2 separate regions of the Homo sapiens genome follow, and region 1 is linked to region 2. The links are contacts of gene promoters, found by promoter capture Hi-C in blood cells and fetal thymus (Javierre and others, 2016). All regions are on one chromosome and are shown on one strand. The core of a region is centred on a gene start or on the middle of the fragment in contact, and the rest is flanking DNA. Distances in the headings are between cores, read along the strand shown.

What was found. Contacts are between HindIII fragments. The CHiCAGO score rates a contact against its expected background, and 5 or more counts as called.
Region 1: a contact is called between a fragment that was not itself captured here and the fragment with the promoter of LINC02910 in region 2, in 1 of 17 cell types (neutrophils). The highest score is 5.2, in neutrophils.

What each region holds. Positions count from the first base shown.
Region 1 is chr20:60,002,281-60,007,841 of GRCh38, forward strand. It overlaps CDH26 (cadherin 26), which reads left to right. Exons shown (of 18, transcript NM_177980.4): 16 at 533-586; 17 at 4,433-4,507. Among named protein-coding and RNA genes, the nearest start is that of CDH26, 47 kb to the left of the region's middle. The HindIII fragment of the contact is 1,656 bases long and covers 1,306-2,961 here.
Region 2 is chr20:60,052,876-60,058,084 of GRCh38, forward strand. LINC02910 (long intergenic non-protein coding RNA 2910) reads left to right here and starts at 3,050. Exons shown (of 4, transcript NR_161293.1): 1 at 3,050-3,133. RefSeq lists enhancers at 4,738-4,787, 4,798-4,977, 5,073-5,209. The HindIII fragment of the contact is 13,245 bases long and covers 1-3,867 here.

The DNA.
Region 1 (5,561 bases), core at 884-3,383, 52 kb before region 2:
CCGCATTGATGAATGTTGGGTTCCATGTCCTTGCAGCTGATCCTTCTGGTCCTGTTCGGGCCAGCTGCATGGACATGGAACACCCACCATGGCACAGGGCCTCCCACTCTAAAGAACCTCTGCTTGGTTTAATATTCTACTGTCACCATCTTGAAATTCTTAATTTTTGAACAAAGGGCCCCCAACTTTCATCTTGCACTGAGCCCTGAGAGTTGTGCCGCTAGGCCTGGGTCCTAGGAGTGGATGTGTGTCATTTGTTTGTATTCAGGGCATGGCCATGGCAAAAGGAAATCTTACTGGGTGTTAATGGACCCAAGATAGAGCTTGCAAATCTAATATTCTCATGTTCCTTCTTCACAAAGCAACTGTGAAACTTGTTCATGAATTTCTGCTATGAATATCTACACTCTTTAGAATTACTATACCTTTAGTACAAAAATGAAAGGCAATATGACTGCAAGAATTTCTAGTTATGTATTTGCATCCTTTGGTAATTTATTTGAAATCAGTAAATATTTCATCTTTCTTTAAGGGTTATGGCAAGCCCTTTGAGCCAAGAAGTGTGAAAAACATACACTCTACTCCTGTAAGTATAGATGTAGGTGTTACCGTGAACAAATTTACCTTATTGTTCTGCCTAAAAGCTGTGCAAATCCCTGAAAATTGGAAATTTGGAAGGAAAGAGGTGATAAAAAAAAATATGCCCAACATCCAAGCAAACTGAAGGAGAAGCGAACGTGAAGAGAGGTTGGAAGTAGTTAAGGCACATTTATCCCGTGACTCGAGGGCATAAGAGCTTTTCAGTCCCTGGCAAATTTCTTTTGCTGTTGAGTTGCTAAGACCTCAGTCATAGGCTGAGTTTTCTGCTGTGCTTTGTCACAGACCTATAGAAATTTTGAGCTAAGGGGGTCTTAGACATCATCTAGTCAATTTTTTTTTCTAAATATGTTTTGCACCAGAATTCTTCTTTTCAAATGAGATCCTACAAATAACTCCATTGTAAATAAAACATCTAAGTACTAATTTTGTATGCATTGACATTAATGACATATACCTATTACCAAAATAGCCAATAAAAATAATGATTCTGATGTAAACAGAAGGAAGTTGAATGTTGTGGATATAGTTTGCAAAATTATGTTAACTTAACACCTAATTCATTGCCTCGCATTATTATAAACTGGTTTTTAAAGTATCAAGAAAATTTTGATATATACCAACAAGCAGTTTCAAATCTTAATGGTTTTTGAATAGCTCAGTTTACAATGTTAGGATTCTCTTTGATTAATGAAACATGGGACCAAAAGCTTCATTTGAGTTGCATAAAAGCTAATTAACATGGCATCCCAAATTTACATGTTGGTGTGGGAGACTAAAAAAGATGTAAACCACTTTCTGTTATATTATAAAAATAATATTCAATATTGTTATTGAAATAATTTGTAAATAATGAAAATAAATTTCAAATACTCTAGCTGAAGTATCTTTGAGGAGTCGTAGGCCCTGGGGATAGAGTTAAACCAGTGGCTAAGTCCACAGAAGCCCAGAGAGGAGAGATAGTGCTCTCTCAGCCACAGTGCAGCCATACATAGTGTGGGGTTAGGACCTGAAGCTGGCTTGAGGCAAAATCACCCCAAGTCTACCTCGGGAAGGAGCCAGGCTGGAAACTGACACGGCGTCTTCCTCTGGTCCTGGATGAGCCCCATGCTTGGTCAGTGAGCATCTGGTGCAAGGGTACTTTGTACATAGCCCACATCTTAAGGGTCCTCCTCTGAGAGGCCCCTGGGGCTAAACAGACTGAGGGCACAGCATCTCCAGTCAAGTGCTCCCAGCACTGGGAACCAGGCAGCAGGGTCCCTAGGGCTGCTTGTAGTGGTCCACACCTTGCCTCTTTGGCTTAGTATGTTTGGTTCAGCTTACCTTGGTATGATGTGGCTTCACTATGTGTACACACATGTGTATATGTACAGTCATGTCTGGCTTAATGATGGGGATACGTTCTGAGAAATGTGTTGTTAGGTGATTTCATCACTGTGTAAACTTCATAAAGTGTTTTACACAAACCTAAATGGTGTAGCCTACTACACACCTAGACCTCTTGGTGTAGCCTGTTGCTTCTAGGCTACAAACCCGTACAGCATGTGACTGTACTGAATACTGTAGGCAATTGGAACACAATGGTGTTTGTGTATCTACCTACACAGGCCAGGGCGCCGTGGCTCACGTCTGTAATCCCAGCACTTTGGGAGGCCGAGGCAGGCGTATCACGAGATCAGGAGATAGAGACCATCCTGGCTAACATGGTGAAACCCTGTCTTTACTAAAAATACAAAAAATTAACTGGACGTGGTGGCGGGCGCCTGTAGCCCCAGCTACTTGGGAGGCTGAGGCAGGAGAATGGCATGAACCTGGGAGGCGGCGCTTGCAGTGAGCCAAGATCGCGCCACTGCACTCCAGCCTGGGTGACAGAGCGAGACTCCATCTCAAAAAAAAAAAAAAAAAAAAGAAAAGAAAAAAACACCTACACATAGAAAAGGTACAGTAAAAATACAGCATTACAGTCTTATGGGACCAGCTTTATATATACGGCCTGTCATTGAAATGTTATGCCGTGCATAACTGTATGTATGCATGTGTATATAGATAGATATGTGTATTCAGTTGACCCTTGAACAATAGGAGTTTGAACTGTGTGGGTGCACTTATATGTGGGTTTTCTTCTGCCTCTGCCACCCCCGAGACAGCAAGACCAACCCTTCTTCTCCCTCCTCCTCTTCATTCTACTCAGAGAGAAGACAATGAAGATGAAGACCTTTATGATAATCCACTTCTACTTAATGAATAGTGAATATATTTTCCTTAATGACATTTTCTTTCTTCTAGCTTACTTTGTTATAATATAGTATATAATACATATGACATACAAAATGTGCATTAATTGACTGTTTATATTATTGGAAAAGCTTCCAGTCAACAGTAGACTGTTAGTTGAGTTTTCGGGGAATCAAAAGTTATAGGCATGTTTTCAACTGTGCAGGGTCAGCACCCCTAACCCCCACATTGTTCAAGGGTCAACTGTATATGTATATGTCTATATGTCTATATGTATATGTATAGAAGCATGTACATGTACAGAGGCATGAGTATGCATATATGAACATGTGTATGTTTGTCTGTATATGTGCATGTGTATATATCTGTATGTATGTATGTATGTATGTATGTATGTATGTATGTGTATATATAGCCTCATGGACATACATAATTGCCCCAGGCTTTATCATATTTTACATATGTCTTCTGGAACCCAATAAGTATCCCTAAACCCAGGTAAGATCAGAAGTCATCTCAGCCATAAAGGCCACCAGTGATTAAAAACACAAATTGTATGTCACTCTCCAATTTAAGACTTCCTGTTGGCTTGCCATTGCACCTGGGATAAAGTCTACAACCTTATGACCTTAAGGGGATCCTCCCTCCAGGGCTGCTTTGCAGAACCCAGCCTAAGACAGACCTATGTCTTTAATGTCCTGTGAGACCCTCTATCACATGGCCTTTGCTCACGTATGGCTTCAACTTGCTCTGAGCCTCCCCCCACCTCCCTAACCATCCCAGCACCCCACCTCTTTGGGCTCCAGCCACAGAACACGCCAAGTTCCCTCCCTGCTTAGGGCCTGTGCTGTTTCTTCTCATTGGAATTCCCTTCTGTTCCATGGCCCTACAACTTCCTCCTCCTGAGAACTCCCTGCTCTCAACTGGGTGAGATCCCCTCTTAAACCTTCCCTTGGTGATCAGTCTTACATTTACCGCCACTCTTGGGTGCTTGCCTTGCACCTGCGTGAGCTCGACAGTGAGGCCCCAGGTGCTTTGCTTGCCTCCAGGCCAGCCTGACTCACATGATTTAGTGGTGGGATTTGTGAGCCCCCAGATAGCCACTCCTTCCAGTAGATGCCAAGCCTGTTTCCTACCACTGTATCCTCTGCCCTTAGATAGCACAGAGACCCAGATCCACAGACATGGGCCAGATGAGCAGGAGACTGCCAGCAGCCCATCATGGGAAACAATGGGCAGGTTCAGAGGAAGAGAAGCCAAAATGAGCGAGGAGGGGCAGTGTAGTTGAGGGGGTGCAAGGCATGAGTGAGGGTGTCAGCAGGAACAACCCTCCTGGCCGGGCTCACTTGGGTTCCTTCCTCACTGAAAGTTTGTTTCAGCCCAGGCATTGGAAAGTCTAGCCATGAGAGCTTGCAGGGCCTCCCTCTCTCCCCCAACACAAAGAGAGGAAACGTGAGCAAACTACCCTGGGCCTGGCTCTTCACCTCCAAGAGAACGGTGCTCAGTGTGCCCCATCTATGCTGGGGCCACTGACACACAGGGGTTGGGGGGTAGGACAAGGGCTCTGCTGTGGTATGAAGCTCTACTGGTTTGCTTGCAGGCTTACCCAGATGCCACAATGCACAGACAACTCCTGGCTCCGGTGGAAGGAAGGATGGCAGAGACATTGAATCAGGTAGGGAGAGCTCCCCTTGTGCTGTGCACTAGCTATGGGTTTTGCATCCCCACTGTGCTCCAGGCTTGATTTGGGGACACTTCCTCCTAAATCACTGCATTAGTCAGCTAAGGCTGCCATAATAAAATACCATAGCCTGACTGGTGGCTTAAATAACAGAAATATATTGCCTCATGTTTCTGCAGGCTAGAAGTCCAAGGTCAGGGTTCCAGCATGGTTGGGTTCTGGTGAGAGCTCTCTTGCTAGCTGGCAGATGGCCACTTTCCCGCCGTGTCCTCACATGGGATGGAGAGAGAGATACCAAGCTCCCTGGTATCTCTTCTTATTAGGGAACTAATTCCATCATGAGGACTCTACCCTCATGAGCTCATCTAAACCTAATTGTCTCCCAAAGGCTCCGTCTTCAAATGCCATCACATTGGGGTTAGGGCCTGAACATATGGATTTGGAGAGGGAACACAATTAAGTCCATAGCAATCACTTTCATGGAAATCCTCCATCCAGTGCTGCTTTGCAGAACCCAACTGAAGACAGAATTGACACAGCACAGGCAAGCCCCAAAACTGGGGATTAGCCCAGGAGGGTTTTGGGAAATAATTCAAAGGTGAGGTGGAGGTGTTAGACAGCAGTCTTCTATTCAACATTACTGCTCCTTGCAAGGCAGGGCTAACTCATAGGCAGTACACTCAGAGTCAGAAATGTATGGGCTGTTGGCAACTGTATTTATACCCACTAAAACCCACTTTCAATTACATGCAAATTAAGCAGCAGGTTGATGCAAACGGAGGGGCTGGTTATTTAGAACTTTCTAGGACAGCAGTGATAACTTCTGGGTCACTGCCATGGCATTTGTAAGCTGTCCTGGCACTGGTGTGAGTCTCTTGCACCAGTGAGCAATGAGGGCATCCAGGGTTCACTTTCGTCTCATCTGCTGGTTTCTGCTGGTTTTTTTTTTTTAACTTCATCCCATCTGGACCAGATCCTGTTTTGGTCAGCAGGGTTGTGACCAGAAAACAAGACCTGCTGGCCTCCTACCTCAGAATGAAGGGTCTTT
Region 2 (5,209 bases), core at 1,800-4,299:
GGGAGACCTCCAGTTAAAAACAAAATTGTACACAACCGCAGCCTCATTTCCATTGTTTAAGAAATTAATTATCTTGGTGTATCTTTTCCAATAACAGCTTTCATTAAATTAAACCCAAGGCATTTATATTCCCTGGGAATAACAGGCTGCTTATATATGGCGGGAATGTGCTGGAATTTCTTTAGAAATCAGCACATTGGCTATTGAGGACTAGCTGGTGATCACAGGTATAGGTTTTGAAGTTAGATTGTCAGGATTAAAATCCAGGCTCTGCCATTGCTGGCTGTGTGGTCTTGAGCAAGTTACATTACCTCTCTGTGTCTCGGCTTGCCCATCTGTGCAATTTGGACAGTAAGAGTTCCTATCTCCCAGGCTTGTGGTAAGGATTAAACACGTTCATGTAATGATCAACAAGGTTAACTATGAACATGCTCACAAAGACACACATGGGCTCTTCTGGCGCAATAGGGACGTGGCCTGGAAGCTCACTGCCACGTGGCATTTGGGACCACAAGGGATCAGACCTCATCGTCTGTGCACAGATAGACAAGATCATAAAGAGGAAAAATTAGCATCGGGAAACTGGTTATTTATTTAAGATTGAAAGCGGGAGAAATCTGCCCTGGACATCTTCCCCTCTCCTCTGTTTGTTTTGTCTGCCAAACAGAGGCAGTACCCCCTCTCCACTCTATTTATTAATTGAGTAAACTCCGTGATCCTAAATGCAAACAAACATGGGGCCAGCACAAACAAGCACGTGCTTCCTGTACGCGCCACTTCTGAGTAGCAGCCCGAGCAACAGGTGGACTGGCTGGGAGACAGAAACGGCTGCAGAAGGCGCCTCCAGGATTTGGCGTGAGAGCCCTGCAAGGTCAGCCCATGTGCTCCTTCTTTGTTAGATTGTTTGTTCATTCATTTGTTTATTCATTCCTTTATTCAAGTGTTTAGTGAGAACTTCCATGTGGAAGACAAAGACCTAGCTCACAAGGGGTGCATGGTCTAGGGAGCTAGGTGTGGACAAAGAGCCACGTAGGATGTCAGTGCTGAGATGTGGCAGCCACGGGGAGCTATGGAAGGGGGCAGAAAGAAGACCCCAGAGCTCAGGGAAGGCCTGCAGGGCAAGTAGGGAGTTGTCAGCCCAGCAAAGAGCCAAGAGTGTGAGGAGAAGGTCTGCCAGCGCCTGAAGGGGAGAAGCCATGGTTCACCAGCTTCAAGAGTTGATACAGTTGAAAGCATCATCTCTCCATGGCCAACATCCTGGGCTGTGGCTTTAATTTGGGCATAGTGTGTGCCTGCAAAACCTCGGCTGTATTCAACCTAGTCTGCCATTGATGGAGTGAGAACTGCCCCCAAATTATTTACATTCAAATTTGGAAGCAACTGAAACCCAACAGTAGGAGATTCATTACAGTAATTCCATGGAAATGGAATAATACGCTGTCGTTAAAAGTGTTCAAATCTTTTATGGTTATGATAAATCTAATAATAAAATCGAGACAATATTAGAATATATATTTTAACATTTTCCTAGTTTTGTGAAAAAAGCCCCAAATATCTGTATGAGCCTAGATAAATGACAAGAAAGGAAAACAGTAAGATTTTTATAATGGTTATTGCTCAATGGTTGGATTTTTAAAAATACTCTTCTATAATTTCTAAATTTTATGCCCTGAGGATGTATTACCTCCATAGTCAGAAAAATTATGAAAGGTATTTAAAACCCAAACTGGCTTTGGGCATGCAGAATGCTTGGTTATTTCTGAAGTATAAAAATAACTCCCCCTCTGTCCCATCAGCACGCGTGTTGCAGGGAGTCTGACGTTGCTCGCTAAGTCTCTTTGGTCGTTTCATACTAATGCCCTTTGCTCCCCTGATTATCTCTCTGAGGTTGGGGCCGGGGGATGGGGGTGTGCTAGGCCTCCTGGATGTCTGTCTGCTGCCAAAACATCCTCTCCTGTCTCTGTCTCATTGGTGCATTTTGATGAACCTGTATTGCCTGGTCACTGCGCGCTAACCACCAAATTATGAAACATTTGTGCTGCAAGGGAGCTGAGAGATCCTTAAACTCAATGAACCATTAGGCATAAGACACACACACACACATACACACGTGAATACACACAAACACACAAACAGCTTGGCTGCTCTGGGTGAAGCATGTGTGTGTTTGGGGGAAATTTCCTTCCCCACCCGTGGTCGTCCATTTGCCCATGAGCAGCTTCCGAGGCAGGTCCGTGGACCCCAACGCTGTGTAACACCGTGTGAAAAACACAAAGGCTTGCAGCCCTCTCACTGCAGACGTGGGAACACGACTCTGTTTAAAACCCTTCAAAGCCCGCCTTCTTGCCGTGTGATGCTGCCTGGGCCAGCAGGGCAGGTCACCACGCTGTCTCTTCAAAGCAGCTCGCTCATGCCCACAGCGCTGGGCACAAGGGCAGCCACGAGCTGTTTGATTTCTGCGTCCCCAGCAGATGGCTTGGTGCACAGGGGCAGGGCTCGTCTGTCCCTCTCACTGCTGCGTCCCAGGCTATGTCTCCACCATGTAACTTCAGACAAGTTCCTCAGCGTCTCTGTGTCCTGGTTCCCTCATTTGTAACATCAGGATATTGATAAGGATCATAGTAATAGGGATGTCCTTATGGGGCCTCATGAAAATGAAGAGTTCTCTGTGATGTGCCTGGAACCACAGAGGGCAGCAAGTGGGAGCCACAGAAAGTCATCTCTTTATCATAGTTGTCATTGGTAACTATGACGGTTATCAAGGGCAGGGGTCTCCCACCTTCTGCATCCAGGCCTTGTCATTCCTTATAAAATTTTCTCCTTTCAAGGACTTTCAATGCCCTGAAAACGGAATGCTCCTCCCTGCTCCCCATCAGCTGCTGCAGAGCCCTGAACCCCTTGAACTTGCCTTGCTTAGTTCTTTCAGGGGCTGCCTTGGATGCCACCTCACTTCCCTCTTCTTGGCTCTGTGGCTGTCAGAGGGGCTGGGCACTGGGTTACTTCATCAGTTCCTGGGTGTTGATCGGCAGGAAACAGTGGTTTCCTGTTCATATCCTGCCTGAGCCTGGGCCGGGTGGAGGTGTCCTGCATGGAGTCTTGTGAAATCGCGTGGACTGCAACACCCAGCAGCGCGGTGAGTCCACCCTGAAATCCACAGTGACCCACGCGGCATGTGCTGGGAATTGAACGCTTGGGGAAAGAGCTGGGCTCCAGCGGATCAGCCCCGACCAAGTCGTTCCCACAGCTCAGGACCGGACGCTACAAGCCCACTTTGTAGCAGTTTGGCGGACGGCAAACTTTTGCAACACAGTGCAAAAACCATTTAACACCTTTAAGGGAATTGGAAATGGGTTTTTCATGTGTGGTGGTGCTGAAAATTGAGAATAATGACAGAATTATTAAAAACAGCCTTCTCGGCCTTAGACTCTTAATTGCCTCTGGTCTGTAAAACTGACAAATAAGCACTGTAGAAGCCACAGATGAAATATGTCGTCTTGGGAGCCCTGGAGAATTGTCTCTGAATTCTTTTGTTTATGGATTGTAGAAACTGCTTTGGGGGTAGTTGGATGTAGAAGCAGAAGGACAGAGTGGGGAGCTGGGAGCAGGAGGCCTGGGTTTGTCTCCTGAGTCTGTTTCCACTGGGGCCTGAGGCTCCCGTGTGAGGGAACATGAATGGGCCAGGCACATGGGCCCTGTGGGGTGACAGAGCTGTGGGCTCCATGGTGGCTCTGTGGGCAGCTAGCTTGGGGATGGCTGAGATAAAGACAAGTAGTTTTCCTTCCTGCAGGACTTCTCAGAGCCTTTAGTGTGGTTATAATGATAGAAAACAGTATTAAGTCCATACCCTGAACCAGAAACAATGCTAAAAGCTTTGCACTTGGCCTTTTTTTTTCTTTTTCTTTTATCAACATGTGTGAGGACGGAAGCTTAGGCTTACAGATATGGACTCATTGAGAGTGAGTGGACGTGTCTGATCTTTAACCCAGTTCTGTCTGACCAAAAAGCCTGTGCTCTAACCACTGTGCACCCCTGCCTGTCTGTCCTGTTGAGAGAACTGTAGGGAAAGCCTTGAGATTATGTATCCAGTGCTCCCCTCCTCCTGATTGGAAGATGGCAGCTCAGAAGGTTAGGGTGCCTTCTCCTGTCCTCCGAGTGGTTAGATGCACGTGTCCTCTTCTGTCCTCTGCTCTTCCCACATCCCTCTCTCTCTGGTGCTCTGGTGGAGCCCCTGGGATCAGGGGTCACAGGAGCACCTGGGCCATTTGCATGGTTGTTGGTAAAGGGTGTTCCCCCACCCCCCATTAAGGTGCCTGCCATCAAAGTGCCTTATTGCTTGAGTTCCAATCTCGGCTTCACAACTCTGTAGCTGTGTGACTTTGCACAATGTACTGAGCCTCTCTGTGCCTGAACATCCTTGTTTGTAGATAGTAAAGATAATTGTCCCTTACTCCTAGGTTTCACATTGAGTGTTTAGCAAGTTAACGTTTGTAACGTGTGAAGTCATAAGATGCAGGACTGGATGACTGCCCTACCCACAAGAGGCCTAGGATCTTCCCAAGTTGCACTACTTATGGGACAGGTCTGCCAAGCAGCCCTTGTGAAGATAAAGGTGGTGATGAGTTCCTCCCACAAAACAAGAGCCTCAGAGAGACTGGAAAATAACCCCCGGTGCCTTTTATCAACTGGCCAGCAGATGGCAGAAGCAAGCCAGGAACAGAGCTTGTGTGCGGCGGCTGTGGCAGCTACCTTTGAAAATCCCGTGGTGTTTGGTGGTCGTATTAAGAGATCTCTGGTGTAGGAGCATCCTTCATTCTAAGCAGGATTCTGAACAAACTCAGAACTGGCTTTGTGGCTGGTACCGAGGACCCAGGGGTCACGGCTGCTCCCAGTGGGTGCTGATGCCCATTTGTTTGTGCAAGTTGGTCCCCTGTAGGGAGGACAGATGGTCTGTCTCGGACTTTCTGGCCTGTGCACCAAGGCCCAGGGATGGAAGTGGGGCAGCATGTCCCCATCATTAAATAGGGCGTTCTTGATAATAATCCCATAAGGCCTAATGTGATGGGTGTGGTCAATCATTCATTCATTCTGTGAGGATTCAGTGAGCAGCTACTCCATGCCTCTAGGCTCTGAGGACGCAGCATGAGAAACACACGGAAGGCCCACGATGACCAGGGAGCTCGCCTTCCAGGGAGAGAGGAGAAAAATAAAT